Linked DNA regions of Homo sapiens: region 1 is linked to region 2. Evidence: promoter capture Hi-C in 16 types of primary human blood cells and fetal thymus (Javierre and others, 2016). All regions are on one chromosome and are shown on one strand. The core of a region is centred on a gene start or on the middle of the fragment in contact, and the rest is flanking DNA. Distances in the headings are between cores, read along the strand shown. Region 1 holds the start of RBMX (RNA binding motif protein X-linked). Region 2 holds the start of INTS6L (integrator complex subunit 6 like).

Evidence for each region. The method cuts DNA at HindIII sites, captures the fragments that hold promoters and counts their contacts. A CHiCAGO score of 5 or more calls a contact.
Region 1: the fragment with the promoter of RBMX here is called in contact with the fragment with the promoter of INTS6L in region 2 in 2 of 17 cell types (fetal thymus and erythroblasts); the score reaches 7.3 in fetal thymus.

The regions. Positions count from the first base shown.
Region 1 is chrX:136,877,214-136,884,073 of GRCh38, reverse strand. RBMX (RNA binding motif protein X-linked) reads left to right here and starts at 3,349. Exons shown (of 9, transcript NM_002139.4): 1 at 3,349-3,477; 2 at 4,621-4,755; 3 at 4,951-5,057; 4 at 5,988-6,159. The coding sequence starts at 4,647. SNORD61 (small nucleolar RNA, C/D box 61) reads left to right here and starts at 4,803; the gene lies at 4,803-4,875. RefSeq lists enhancers at 3,226-3,824, 3,494-3,953, 3,964-4,023, 3,825-4,424. The HindIII fragment of the contact is 13,799 bases long and covers 1-6,860 here.
Region 2 is chrX:135,516,021-135,523,407 of GRCh38, reverse strand. It overlaps INTS6L (integrator complex subunit 6 like), which reads right to left and starts at 2,748. Exons shown (of 18, transcript NM_001351601.3): 1 at 2,305-2,748; 2 at 2,090-2,167. The coding sequence starts at 2,415. INTS6L-AS1 (INTS6L antisense RNA 1) reads left to right here and starts at 2,734. Exons shown (of 2, transcript NR_046740.1): 1 at 2,734-2,841; 2 at 3,036-3,325. RefSeq lists silencers at 1,645-1,844, 1,905-2,174 and enhancers at 2,425-2,484, 2,515-2,594. The HindIII fragment of the contact is 2,771 bases long and covers 538-3,308 here.

The DNA.
Region 1 (6,860 bases), core at 2,100-4,599, 1.4 Mb before region 2:
TTCAAAAGGCAAATGGACATGAGTTTTGCCTTACTTTTTATTATTTGGCTGGGGGAAAAAAAACAAGAACAAATATTCTTGTCCTACTGGGCATTACTCCCCCTATTAATGTTAATAATTCAGAGCTGGTTTCGAAGCTCCTTGGGGGCTTTTACCCGTGACCTGAATATTATTTACTACAACCTGCCTGGCATATACCAAAATTCACCATGGGCAGGTAATTGTAACTATGAAGAAGAAAAGGCCCGGCACGGTGGCTCAGGCCTGTAATCTCAGCACTTTGGGAGGGCGAGGCGGGCGTATCACCTGAGGTCAGGAGTTTGAGACCAGCCTGGCCAACATGGTGAAACTCTGTCTCTACTAAAAATACAAAATTAGCCGGGCATGGTGGCGTATGCCTGTAATCCCAGCTACTCAGGAGGCGGAGACGGGAGAATCGCTTGAACCCGGGAGGCAGAGGTTGCAGTGACCCAAGATCGCACCAGTGCACTCTAGCCTGGGCAATGAGAGCGAACCTCTTTCTCAAAAAAACAAAAAAACAAACAAAAAAAAAAGGAGAAGAAGAAGAAGAAAAGTGAAAATTGTCCATAAATTCTACCACTCCAAGATAAACTGGTAACATTTTGGCATATTTCCTCCCAGTTATTTTGTCTCCATATGTATTTTTTTAATAGCTCATATTATGTGATCTTGGGCCTTCTTTTCCCACTGTACTCTCTTGTTTGGTGGTTTCATTCATTCTGATGGCTTTTATTACATCTCTGAGATGATAATTTAGCACAGATCTATGCTCTGAGCTTCAGATTTTTCTGCCCCTATATCCCAAACTTGCTCCTCTGAAACCATTTTGGTAAATGACTGTTACCATCTGTCCCACTAATACCAGATACTTGGAGTCATCCATAATGATTTTCTTTTTCCGCAATTCTTCCCCACCCCTTTCCCATCTGTCTTAGTCCATTCCTGCTACTATAACAAAATACCATAAACTGGCTGGCTTATAAACAACAGAAATTTATTTCTCACATTTTTGTAGGCTGGGAAGTCCAAGATAAAGACGCCAGCATATTCAGTGTCTGGTGAGGGCCCACCACCACCAGTTTTCTGGTTCATATAAGTGGCACCTCACTGTGTTCTCACATGGTGGACAGGGGCCTCTTTTATAAAAGTGTTAATCCCATTCATGAGGACCCTACCCTTTTGTGACCTAATCTTCTCCCCAAATCCCCGCCTCCTAATGCCATCACCTTGGGTATTAGGATTTCAACATATGAATTTGGGGGAGGACACAAACATTTAGACCATAGCACCATTAAACACGATACCTATCATATTCATCTAACAATTGTTCTTTCCTCCCCGTGTCCACTGCCGCCACCCTGATTCAAGCCACCATCCTCTCTTTCTGGTCTGCTCCCACAGCCCTATTAGTGTCCTTTTTCCCACACTTACCCCCTACAGTCATTTAATGGGCTCAAAGGTCCTGCCAATCTTGGCTCCCTCATTTCATGCCCCTCATATTCTTGTCACCTGGCCCTCTTTCTGTCCCTTGATATATGCCAAGCTCTTCCTCTCTACTTTGTGTTTACTATTCTCTTCTTTTCCTGAAGGTTTTTCCCTCAGCTGTTCCCATAGCTAGTTTCTTTTCTTCCTTCAGCTCTGATCTCCAAAGTCACCTCTTCACATAGACCTTCCCTGATGTTTTAATCAAATTTGTTCTCCCTAATATTGTCCATCAAAGCAACTAGTTTATTTCCTCCCTGGCATTAATCACAACATGCCATTCTTTTGTTAATTGTATTCAATTTCTTTAAGAAAAAAATTAAAAAATTTTTTGGTTTCCCCCCTCAACAAGTAGGATGGGCAGATGAAATATAGAATGCTCAGTTAAATTTGAATTTCCGATAAACAGCGAATTTTTAAAATATGAGATTTGGGACATACTATACTAAAAAAAGTATTCGTTATCTGAAATTTAAACTTAACTGGGCGTCCCTTTTTTTTTTTTTAGACGAAGTCTCGCTCTGTTGCCAGGCTGGAGTGCAGTGGTATGATCTTGGCTCACTGCAACCGCCGCCTCCTGGGTTCAAGCAATTCTCCTGCCTCAGCCTCCCGAGTAGCTGGGACTACAGGCACACGCCGCCACGCCCGGCTAATTTTTTTATTTTTTATTTTTATTTTAGTAGAGACGGGGTTTCACCATGTTGCCCAGGCTGGTCTCAAACCCCTGAGCTCAGGCAATCTGCCCGCCTCGGCCTCCCAAAGTGCTAGGATTACAGGCATGAGCCACCGCGCCCCGGCCGCGTCCCATATTTTTATTTAAAATTTTTTAACAGCTTCGCAGAATAAATTAGCGTCCCGCATTTTCTTTTTTATTTTGAGACGGAGTCTCGCTCTGTCGCCTGCCCAGGCTGGAGTGCGGTGGCGCAGTCTTGGCTCACTGCAACCTCCGCCTCCCGGATTCTCCTGCCTCAGCCTCCCGAGTAGCTGGGACTACAGGCGCGTGCCACCACGCCTGGGTAATTTTTTGTATTTTTAAAAAGAGACGGGGTTTCACCGTGTTAGCCAGGATGGTCTCCATCTCCTGACTTCGTGATCCACCGACCTTGGCCTCCCAAAGTGCTGGGATTACAGGCGTGAGCCACTGCACCCGGCCTGGTATTTTCATTTATTAAATCCGGCATCCTTACCCACAGGCCTGACTCTTGTCTTTTCCCTGGAGTTGTATTTTCCTGGCCTAGCCCAGAGCCCACCATTTACAAGGTGCTCAGTAATTGTTCTATATGAATGTACTATCTGCATGCTGTTTTGTACGTTTTTTACTCATCTGAAATTTACATGTATTTATCAGAAATTCCCACACTCACTAAAAACACTTGTTAAAGACAATTTTTGAAAATATATTATATTGCCAAAACTTCTTTGTTTTCCGTTTCTGCAAAATTGGTATAGTAGGAGTATCTACCCTCATCACATTTTGACAATTAGAAGAGTTAATGGAAAAGTAAAAGTAAAGTTTTGCACCGTGCCCGGCCCACTAGGACGCTCAATAAACTTCAGTTCTTTATTAAAGGAAGCCTGTGCACCATTTTAGCGTAAAGCAAAAAAAGCGCGTTTGTAAAGAACGGGTGGGGGTAGAGAAAACGGTTAGAAAGGTCTGTCGACCCAACACCGAGGGCCCGGGAAAAAGGGAGGAGAGAAGGGTGAATGACAGAGGAGCCAGCCAATGGGGAGACTGGGAACTACTTCCCCCCTCCCTTTGCGTTTCAAATTCTAAGCTCCGTTTCCATCCGGGTCCTTCAGCCTCGTTCCCGGGCAGTATAAAGTTTGCTGTCTCCTTTGTTCGCCCTCGTTGCGCAGTAGTGCTAGCGGCTTCGCGGTTCGGTCCTCGCACCCGGCAGCCGCCACTGGTGCTGAGCTGCTAGGAAGCCCCTATCGCCGAGCTCGTTGGAGCTTGAACCCATTGTCACCCCTCCGGTACGTGTCTCCTTTCCTCAGTCCGTTTTTCGTGACACTCTCCCCGTGTTAGGACTGGGGATTATATCTCCCTGGAGATGGGGGTGGCGGGCGCCATTTTAAGAACCCAAAGGTTCCGACCTATTTAAATAAAGCTGAGGGGGTCGAGGGAAAACAAATGAGGGGGCCCGTTTGGTTGTATGCTTCTCGAGAAAGTTTGGCTGCCATCTGCGGGAGTTGGTAGCGGAGGTCGGGGCTTTGTAGGCTGGAGCGGGGCGAGGAGCGACCGCACCACGGCGATACCTGCATTGGTATGGCGCTGGCGCTAATGATGGGCATGTGGACTTCCATGCGGGCTGCGGGCTTCGTATTCATTGGCGGCCCCGGAGAAGAAGCCCTCTGAATGTTCCCAGCCAATGTTGGTGGTAAAAGTTAGTCCCCTGACCAGTGTCGGTGGTTCTGGGTTGAATCCAAGTGTCGCCATTTTGTCTTTTACACGCGGTTTTTAATGACGAGTTTTAATTAGGTTCCGCTGCAGTCACGGAGTGTCGAGTGTTAGTGTGTGCGTCCGCGTTCCGTTACTTAATAGCAAACGATGTTGACGATTTGTTTTTATCTTTTTGGCCGGATAGTAGAATTTTCGGTAGGGCGGGGGCCGGTGAAGAAGAGGGGCGGCATAACTTGGCTTAAACTTCACATTTCTCCTTGGATTTAGTAGGGAATCCTAATGAGGAAAAGAGGAGTCGTTGGAAGAGGGCTTGGTGTTAAGGTCCTGTGTCTAGCCTGTGACCTTGGGAGTCTTTTAAAACCATCGTTAGGAAGGGTGTGATGAGTAATTGAATCTTTCAAAGGCAAGAGGACTGGAACTAAAAGTTGCTTTTTCAAATGTTAAGCAGCTGTTGCTTAAGAACAGCTAAGGGTGATCAAGGGTAGTGGTAAAAGTTAAGTTGGCCCTTTTAACCAGTTTTATGTAAATTGCAGTGTTACTAAACTACTTAGTTCAAATTGCTTCCTACTGTGGCTGAGGCTTAGCTCGTTATCGTTTTCTTTAGTTATTAAGGAACAATGGTTTTAGTGGAAAATATGAGAAATGTGCGAAAGTAAAAGTGTCCAATAAACTTGAGGAACTTTTTGCAGTGAGGTAATACTATTCCTTTTCAACAGACTCACCGGCCCAAAAAAAAAAAAACATGGTTGAAGCAGATCGCCCAGGAAAGCTCTTCATTGGTGGGCTTAATACGGAAACAAATGAGAAAGCTCTTGAAGCAGTATTTGGCAAATATGGACGAATAGTGGAAGGTGAGTTGTCTGGCAGTACAGGCTGGGCTATTATAATTAAAATATAAGCTATGATGAATTTGATTGCATTGATCGTCTGACATGATAATGTATTTTTGTCCTCTAAGAAGTTCTGAGCTTTCTGTTTACACATTTACTTTGGTTATTTCATTTGACCTAGGGTAACACTTTATTTTTCTGAAAACTACTTTTTAGTACTCTTGATGAAAGACCGTGAAACCAACAAATCAAGAGGATTTGCTTTTGTCACCTTTGAAAGCCCAGCAGACGCTAAGGATGCAGCCAGAGACATGAATGGAAAGGTGAGATTGTCTACACGATGGATGATAACCTGTTACTAGTGCATAAAATAACATGTAGTTGTCCAAGTCTGGTCTAGGACAGCTTTTGAGTTTTCGTTGTTTTTCAGTATATACCTGTCTGGGATCCACTCATCCTGTTTGTGATCCTGTTCCAAAGAGTATTCTGTAATTGCAGAACCAAATCTAGTAGTGAGTTATATCTTATGCTCGTAACATTCTCTCAGTTCAGAATAATTATGGCATTACATGGTACTTTTTTTTTTTTTTTTTTGATAGTCTCCCTCCGTTGCCTAGCCTGGAGTGCAATGGTGCAGTGCCCACTGCAGCCTGTCTCCCGAGTTCTAAGCGATTTTTCTGCCTCAGCCCCCCCCCCCCCCCCCAGTAGCTGGGATTACAGGCATGCGCGACCACGCCCGGCTAACTTTGTATTTTTAGTAGAGACAGGGTTTCACCATGTTGGCCAGGCTGGTCTCAAACTCCTGACTTCAGGTGATCCAGCTGCCTCCGCCTCCCAAAGTACTGGGATTACAGGTGTGAGACACTGCGAGCCACTGCGCCCAGCCAACATGATACATTTTATCTTGAGATCCATAAGCCATATTTTGATAACTTGGCTTTTGGTTTTGGCTACTAGTTTTGATAACAAGCTGATACCTACTTGGCCTTGTTTTAAATTTTACCATACAATAATGCAGTGGGTTCACCTTATGTTTCAATCCAGATCATCAGTATCGGTTTTAAGTATTAAGAATTTTAAGCGGAAAAGCCCCATTTATGTAAACTGACTATATTTGCAGTGTTTTTTCTTAGACTAATGAGCAACACTTACCCATAACTGCATTTTGAAGGACCAGTTAGTGTCTTAGTGCATAGTAGATGTGCAAATTATTTTTAAATCTTGATTTAATTTAATCGTATCTTTTTTTTTAGTCATTAGATGGAAAAGCCATCAAGGTGGAACAAGCCACCAAACCATCATTTGAAAGTGGTAGACGTGGACCGCCTCCACCTCCAAGAAGTAGAGGCCCTCCAAGAGGTCTTAGAGGTGGAAGAGGAGGAAGTGGAGGAACCAGGGGACCTCCCTCACGGGGAGGACACATGGGTAATAACTTGCGTGGACCTCGGGTTTGGTGTATAAGTTAGGGACTGCAAGCTCACACCAAGTGGATGCTTTGGTTAAGTCCTTGAGGAAAGGTGCCAACTTTTGAAATTGACAACACTTGTTCATCTACCAAAGTGATTGCCAATTGAAAGCATGGGAAGCATGTTTTAGATTATGGTGTTAAACCGTGGACAGTGTTACTTCTTGTCCAAGTAGTTCACTCTGTAGGAAAGGCATTTAAAAATTGATAGGCCAGGGTGTTGGACATGAAAATGAAATCATTTTTATTTTTTAAAGTTAGCTGGGCGTGGTGGCAGGTGCCTGTAATCCCAGCTACTACGGAGGCTGAGGCAGAAGAATCACTTGAACTTGGGAGGCAGAGGTTGCAGTGAGTTGAGATCGTGCCACTGTACTCCAGCCTGGGGGAACAGCGAGACTCCCTCTCAAAAAAAAAAAAAAAAAGTTTTTTAAGACTACCTTCAGTTCTTATTTCCCCAGTTTCTATGACTGCAGTGCATGCTCCATCAAGTACAAGTGAAACTAGACTACCCAAATCAATAATGGTTTTTTTTTGGGGGGGGGGGGGTAGAGTTTAGCACTTGTTGCCCAGGCTGAAGTGCAGTGGCACGATCTTGGCTCACCACAACCTCTGCCTTCCAGGTTCAGGCGATTGTCCTGCCTCAGCCTCCCAAGTAGCTGGG
Region 2 (7,387 bases), core at 1,499-3,998:
TTTTTGACGACAGAGTTTCACTTTCTTGCCCAGGCTGGAGTGCAGTGGCATGGTCTTGGCTCACTGCAACCTCCGACTCCCGGGTTCAAGCAATTCTCACGCCTCAGCCTCCCGCGTAGCTGGGATTACAGGCGCCCGCCACCACATCCGGCCGTTTTTTTTTTTGTTTTGTTTTTTTGTATTTTAGTAAAGACGGGGTTTCACCATGTTGCCCAGGCTGGTCTCAAACTCCTGAGCTCAGGCAATCCGCCCATCTCGACCTCCCAAAGTGCTAGGATTACAGGCCTGAGCCACCGCACCCGGCCAATAAGTTGTTCCTTTAAGGAAAAGAAGGCACACTGCTTTGTGGTTTATCTTTTTTACTACTTCGAATTAAGGAGCATGTCTTCAAATGGCCACACTACAAATGGTCGGTTCTTATCTGTATTAGCAGTCGAAGAGTGTAGACATTCAGACCTAGGATGTATAAACATCTCCTTTTCTATGTGGAAAAAAATGATCACATCCTTTTGGGAAAACTGACATTTTTAAAAAGCTTACGGCATTTTGAAAGATGTCTACTTGTTCCACTTTTCTAAATGGATAGAATCACAAACTGAAAACAAATTATCGAAAAAAGAACAGTTTTAAGGGGAACCTACTAATTAAACAGTTAACCGAAGCTACGAGTTACAAAATTAGTTTCTCTTTGGTTTCCTTATGCTTGAAGGAACACTCTTTGGCCAACTATTCAGCTTGGTAGGTTCCATTCATTAAAACACCTCACTCTACAGAAACGGATCACAACACATCCAGACTGCGTCTCCCTAGCACTATTACGATTATTCTGAGGAAAAAAGAAAAAGCCTAACAAAAGACGTCAAGGATTGTGGTAGTATTTTTAAAATTTCAATATGCAAGCAGGACTCTTATGCAGGTTGATTTAACAGTTTAAATTCCATTTTATCTGGCCACTGCAGGCAAAGCAGCAGTTCTTTATCTCCTCACCATAGGAACATAAATTACCCCACAGAGACCGTCCTCCCTACTTTTCTCCTGTAGGTCAGAATCAAATCATCGAACTTGACTATTACAAATGCTCACATTTGAGTCCTCCCCTTCCTTTCTTTCTTGTCCCTGGATTAATTCCTACGTGGCTAGCACAAACCTAATTTATGATGTAAATAGGTAGAGCGGATCCCTAAAAAGCTCTGCCCCTGTGGGTTCGCACTTGGCACGTCCCCCTCCGTGTCGTTGCTTCGCTGGAATTTCCAATGAAACAGTAACAGTAGCTAAGGTAACTGAGAGCGGGGCTGAACCTGGCCAATTCCGGAGCAGAAACGCAAAGACTTTCTCCGGGTCTGGGGGTGGGGAGACTGGCGTCGCGGACAGATTTCCGATTGCGCGGGGGTGGTGAGAGGCCAACGAGTGCAAAGGCGGTTGTCTAGTCTTTGAAGGCCGGCGGCTGGCTCTGCCACGCTCTCAGCAGGAAGGGGAGGGGACCAGGAGGAAGAGGGGGAGAAGGAGGAGATGCAGCGAAGAGCCCAAGGAGGGGGAGGAAGACCGGGGGAGGAAGGAGGGGCCAGAGGAGGAGCCCAGGCTCCGGGAAAGCCCGCGCGCCCGGCCGGCAGGACCTCGGGGCGGAGTCGCAGGCTCCGTCCGGCCCCCCGCGCGGCGACCCTCGCGCGGTGCGCCTCGAAGGGGCGGGCCCGCCTCGCAGCCTCCCTCCGGGTTTCGGGCCCTCCTTCCCCGCTCCTCCCTCCCCTCCCTCCTTTCCATCTCAGCAGCGCCCTCAGTCTCCCTCTCGCAGGCTCATACAAAAGCAAAATGTCCGCCATGTTCCGAGGCGGCTGCGGTTGTCGCGCCACGAGCTCGGCCCTCCTGCGGTTTCTCCCCGGGGCTGCTCCTCCCCGGTCCCCTCTCCCCGACCCCAGGCGCGACAGCTACTCCGAAGCCGCCGACGGCACCACTCCGCCCGCCCTCTGCGCACCCCCTCGCCGCCCGCCCCGCCGGGCGACGCAGGACCGCCTTAGGCGGGGGCAGGGGGGTAAGCAGCCCCCGCCGACTTGCTCCCGCTTCCCGCCTGTCCCCCCACCCGTAGCCCCTTTACCTTGATGCAGTACGGGGGTTCGTCGTAGGTGACCAGCATGTACCTGTCTCCACGGCTGGCCGGGTCCCGGGCGCGCAGCTGCGGGGCAAGGGATGACGGAGGGGGTCGCGTAGGAAAGGAGGGGGGAGGGCGATACAAACGTTACAGAAGCACCTCAATCCACACCCTGAAATCCCTCGGGAGCTCTCCCCATCTCTCCCCTCCCCTCCCTTTACCTTCAAGAATAACTCCACAGCGCCTTTGGCAATGTCCAAATAAGAGGTGCCCAGGTCAGTGCGCTGGTTCATAGAGGCGGACGTGTCTATGAGGAACAGCAGGATGGGCATCTTCCCCCGCACTCCTGCCTCCGCTCCCCACTCTCCCGGCCCTCTTGCCCTCACTGCCGCGTACGGCCACCTGAACCCTCAACTCTCGCAGAGCCGGGGAGCAAGGAGCAAGAGGAAGAGGGGGAGACGGGACGGGACGGGACGGATGGGACCGCTCCTGGCCTCCTCTTTCTGCAGCCCCACCTCCTCTCCCTCCAAGGGAACTTGAAAGTGTGAGCGTGTGTAGCCCTCGGGGCCCTCCCCCTTCCTCTCTTCTGCTGCCACCACTACTGCCGCTGCCAGGACTACTGCCTAAGCATCCGTCCGCGCTCACTAGAGCGCTCGCCCCAGACTGAGCGCCGTCTCTGTTCACTGACAACTTCTGTCTGCTCACCTACCATCGGCACCATGTGACCAGAACCCATGCCATTGGCTGCCAATTATGTGGTATTTGCATATTCATTAGATGACAGGACTAGGGGAGGGACTTGGGCGAACCCTGGGAGTTGAAGTTTGAACCCAGGCAGAGGGTAAGGGGAAGTGTTACGGACCCTCGCTAGGATTCTCCTTTAAAGGACTTGGAAGCAGTTCGAATGATTAGTTCGGGTGGTTTAAATGGATTTTTCTGTCTCTCTTCAAAGATGGTGATTCGAAAAGAAGAGTGAATTTGAGCAACAGTTGTACAGAAGTACAGAAGCAGATGCTTGGACAGTTTGCACAGAAAATTCTTCGCTAACTGCAATCGATCAATCCTGCCAGTGGCGAAGACGAAAATATTTCAGAAGCAGCAAACTTCTTTCCTGGCAGGACGTACTCACATTCCTTTAGATCCCTCCCCCGTCTTGATCAGTATTTGTGAGTTGGTTGCTGGCCTTGCATTCCACATATATCTACTTAGAAAGGAAACTAAAGCTTAAACACAGTTACAGTTACCTAAACTGGCCTTTTGTATGCACAAGCTTCTTCAGTTTCACTAAGCTCTTTGAAACATTGGCCTGCCTGTGATAATTCCACCACTGTTCCCTCTGCGCAGCCTTTACACATGGAGGTTTGCAAACCTAGATTGTGATTCAACTCACATATTTATTTATTTATTTATTTTTATAAATAAATAAAGAGGATCTCGCTTGATCGCCCAGGCTGGAGTGCAGTGGCCCCATCATAGCTGCCTGCAGCGTCCAGCTCCTGGGCTTAAGCGATCCTCCCATCTCAGCCTCTCAAGTAGCTGGGACCACAGGGGCAGGCTCTCAACTCACATTTATTGAGTGCCTATGAAGAGCCAGGCACCCACGGTAGCCTTGTTTAATCTTTGAATTAATTATGGCAGATGGCATTGTATTCAATTTTCAGTAGAGGAAAATGCAGCTCCCTGAGGTTAGGGTAACAATTACGGATACTCTCAGGTCTGGCTCTGTGAAGAGACTCAGTAAGTGGCCAACCACACTTGATTGACTACTTCATATGACACAATTTTAAAAATTGGACTTGTGTATTCCTGGCAATTACTATTGACAATGTGGAATCCAGGACTTCAATGAGTTTGCAGTTTCATTGAGGAGAGATGATGACATATACATACATAATATTTTATATATTTTGGCCAGGCGCAGTGGCTCATGCCTGTAATTCCAGCACTTTGGGAGGCCGAGGTGGGTGGATCATTTGAGGGCAGGAGTTTGAGACCAGCCTGGCCAACATGGTGAAACCCCCGTCTCTACTAAAAATACAAAAATTAGCCGGGCATGGGAGCAGGCGCCTGTAGTCCCAGCTACTTGGGAGGCTGAGGCAGGAGAATCACTTCAACCCAGGAGACGGAGGTTGCAGTGAACTGAGATCACACCACTGCACTCCAGCCTGGGCAACAGAATGAGATAACATCTCAAAAAAGTATTTTATATATTTTATATACACTCTCTCTCTCTCTCTCTCTCTCTATATATATATGTATGTTCTGTGTATATGTTTCATATATTATATATGCACATTCAATAACATTCTCAGAGAAATACGATTTTAAAAGAAGTCATATGGCAGTATATGAATCAGGGACAAACAAGGATGCAAGTTAAAAAGTGCTATGGAAACAATGGTCCAGTCTAGAAATTCATAGGATTTCACGAACAAGGCACAAAAAGGGAAGAGAGGGAATCTGGGTTGGAAGGAATGATATGAACAAAAACTCAGCCAAAGATAGTACTATGTATGGTGCATTTCAGGCCATTCTGGTGGAAAGTAGGGAATTAATGAAGAAATAAGGATGAAAAAGATACTAGAAGCCCCCATTTCCATTCCGATACAAATGTCAGTGTAGAAGGGCAATGCCTACATGGGCTAGGGTACAAAAAATATAGGACTGTTGGGGGCAGTGTGTTAGTTTTCTACTGCTGTTTAACAAATTATTACAAATTTAGTGGCTTAAAACAACACAAGCATTTACTATCTCACAGTTTCCATGAGTCAGAGGTCTAAGTTTACCTGGGTTCTCTACTTAGTCTCATAAGTCTGCAGTCAACGTGTCAGCCAGGCTGTTTTCATCTGGAGGTTCACCTGGGAAAGAACTGGCTTCCAGGCTCATTCAGATTTCTGGCAGAATTCATTTCCTTGGGGCTGTTGCTGGTGACCAGAGGCCACCTTCAGGTCCACCTTCTGTTGCAGGTCTCTGCCATATGGCTTTCTCCATTGGCTGTTCACAACATAGCTGCTACTTCAGGGCCAGCAGAGAAATCTCTTACTCCAAGATGGAGCCTTATGTAATGTAGATAATCTCAACTAGAAGCAAGTCACAGGTCCCACCCACACTCAAGGAAAGAATATTATACAGGATGTAACACCAAGGATTGGAGATCATGGGGCCAGCTAAGAATTGTGCCTAATATTAGATAGGGATGGGATTATTAAGATGGGGATGTGATTATTTCCTGGAAACAAACTTTGCCTAGTTCACAGTTTTTATGAGATGGAATCTTGCTCTGTCGCCCAGACTGCAGTACAGTGGCATGATCTCGGCTCACTGCAACCTCTGCCTCCCAGCTTAAAGCGATTCTCCTGCCTCAGCCTCCTGAGTAGCTGGTACTAGAGGCATGTGCTACCATGCTCAGCTAATTTTTATATTTTGAGTAGAGATGGAGTTTCACCATGTTGGCCAGGCTGGTCTCAAACTCCTGACTTCAAGCGATCCACCCACCTCGGCCTCCCAAATTGCTGGGTTTACAGGTGTGAGCCACCGTGCCCTGCCTGTTAAAGTCAATTTTGAGTAATACTGTACAAACTTTCAGCCCACCGAATAAATGCATTGGGTTGACTTGTTGCTTAGACTAGCCTTTGGTTGAAGAATTACAAGATTTCCTATGAGGAGTTTATATTTTATTTTGTGAATATCTATATGTGTATGTGTGTATGAGAGAGGAGAATAAGGACTGCTGAGCCATGATATACCCCAGTTTACAAATGGTATTTTAAGATGACATTAAAATATCTCCTTTATACTTTCCTCCCAACTTTTCAATGAGTGTGCCTTACTTTTATAATCAGAAAAGGGGCTATGTTAAAAATTACATTAAAAGAATTGTAAAAAGTTCTTCCAACTTGAATATTACTGAGACAATTTTCAAAAACGGCTTACCAGCATTAGTGAAACACAAATAGTCTCAGTCACACAATGCTCCTGTGGTCAAGGATATGCATGGTGCCACAGAGTGACCTTCTAGGGACAAGATATTCTCCCCATGCAGGTGAATGCCTTTTAATTTTTTTTTTTTTCTAACAAGACATGTTATTGATTTTTTCTGGCATAAATGCAAATGGAATTGAAATGATGTCAACATAGAATTGAAAAATATTTGTGTCTCAGTATAAACTACAAAAATGGCAATATACAAAAAAAAAACAAAAAACAAAAACAAAAATGATGTAACGGATTTATGGGCTTATTCAGATTAAACCAATCCCCAAGCTGTCACCAAGAACCTTCTCTTCATCACTTCCTGGAGGAAAGTAAGTTCTGTATTATGCTAGAAATTGTGTAGACTTCTCCACTGTGTTTCTTTGGCATACATCAACACTAAACCATACAAAGCCCTTTCTACATCTTTCTCTGCTACAGAACATCAGCCTCTTCGTGTTATAGGTTATTTCTGCCATGGGTTTGTTTCTTGCACTAGAATGTAAACTCCTTGAGAGCAGCTAGAGCCTATAACCAATGCCTGGTGCAAAGTACTTGCTCCATAAATGGTTATTGAAAGAAATTGTCAAATGTGCTGTGGTTTTCATTCTTTCATCATCTTTCCAGGTGCTTGGGGTATTATCCTGTAGCTCCTTTCCTAGGGTTACCCAGCCCTCCTGTGTTGCCCCCTGCCTGCCATCTTTCATGGGAGCAGGGTGGTAGACCCAGCTCCCCTGTCCCTGTGGATCCCGGGCCATTTGGATTTGGGCTCCAGGAGGCCCCTTCAGGCCAAAGCATTGAACTGACAGTCCTTACTGCTTACCCAGAACCCTGGCAACTTCCCTTTTGTTCTACTCATGCTTCCTTATGAAATGGCTCTTTCTGGGGCCACTGCTCACTGTTTGTCTCCTTCAGTCAAATCCTCTTTCCAACTGCTCCCAAATTTCAGCCTCTATGGCCTGCATTAACCATCCTATCTTCTTTTCAATTTTCTCACTTTTTTTCAACTTGTGAGCTCTTGAAAAGAGTTTCCTCTTTCCTCTTCAAGTCCTTGCTCTTCATATACTGCTCTCCTGGCCTTCATTCTGTTCACATAAATGTCCACAGACTTTGCCCCATGTTTACATTTTATGTTGTGGTGTGGTCCACCACCATACAGCTGATGCTTTGTTTTGGTGAGAGTCAGTTTGATTTTTCACTCTCCTAAGTTTTGTCACCTCTTGTCTTTAAGCAGTCCCTAATCACTATATTTTTATTTTTATTTTTGAGACAGGGTCACACTCTGTCACCCAGGCTAGAGTACAGTGGTGTGATCACAACTCACTAGAACCT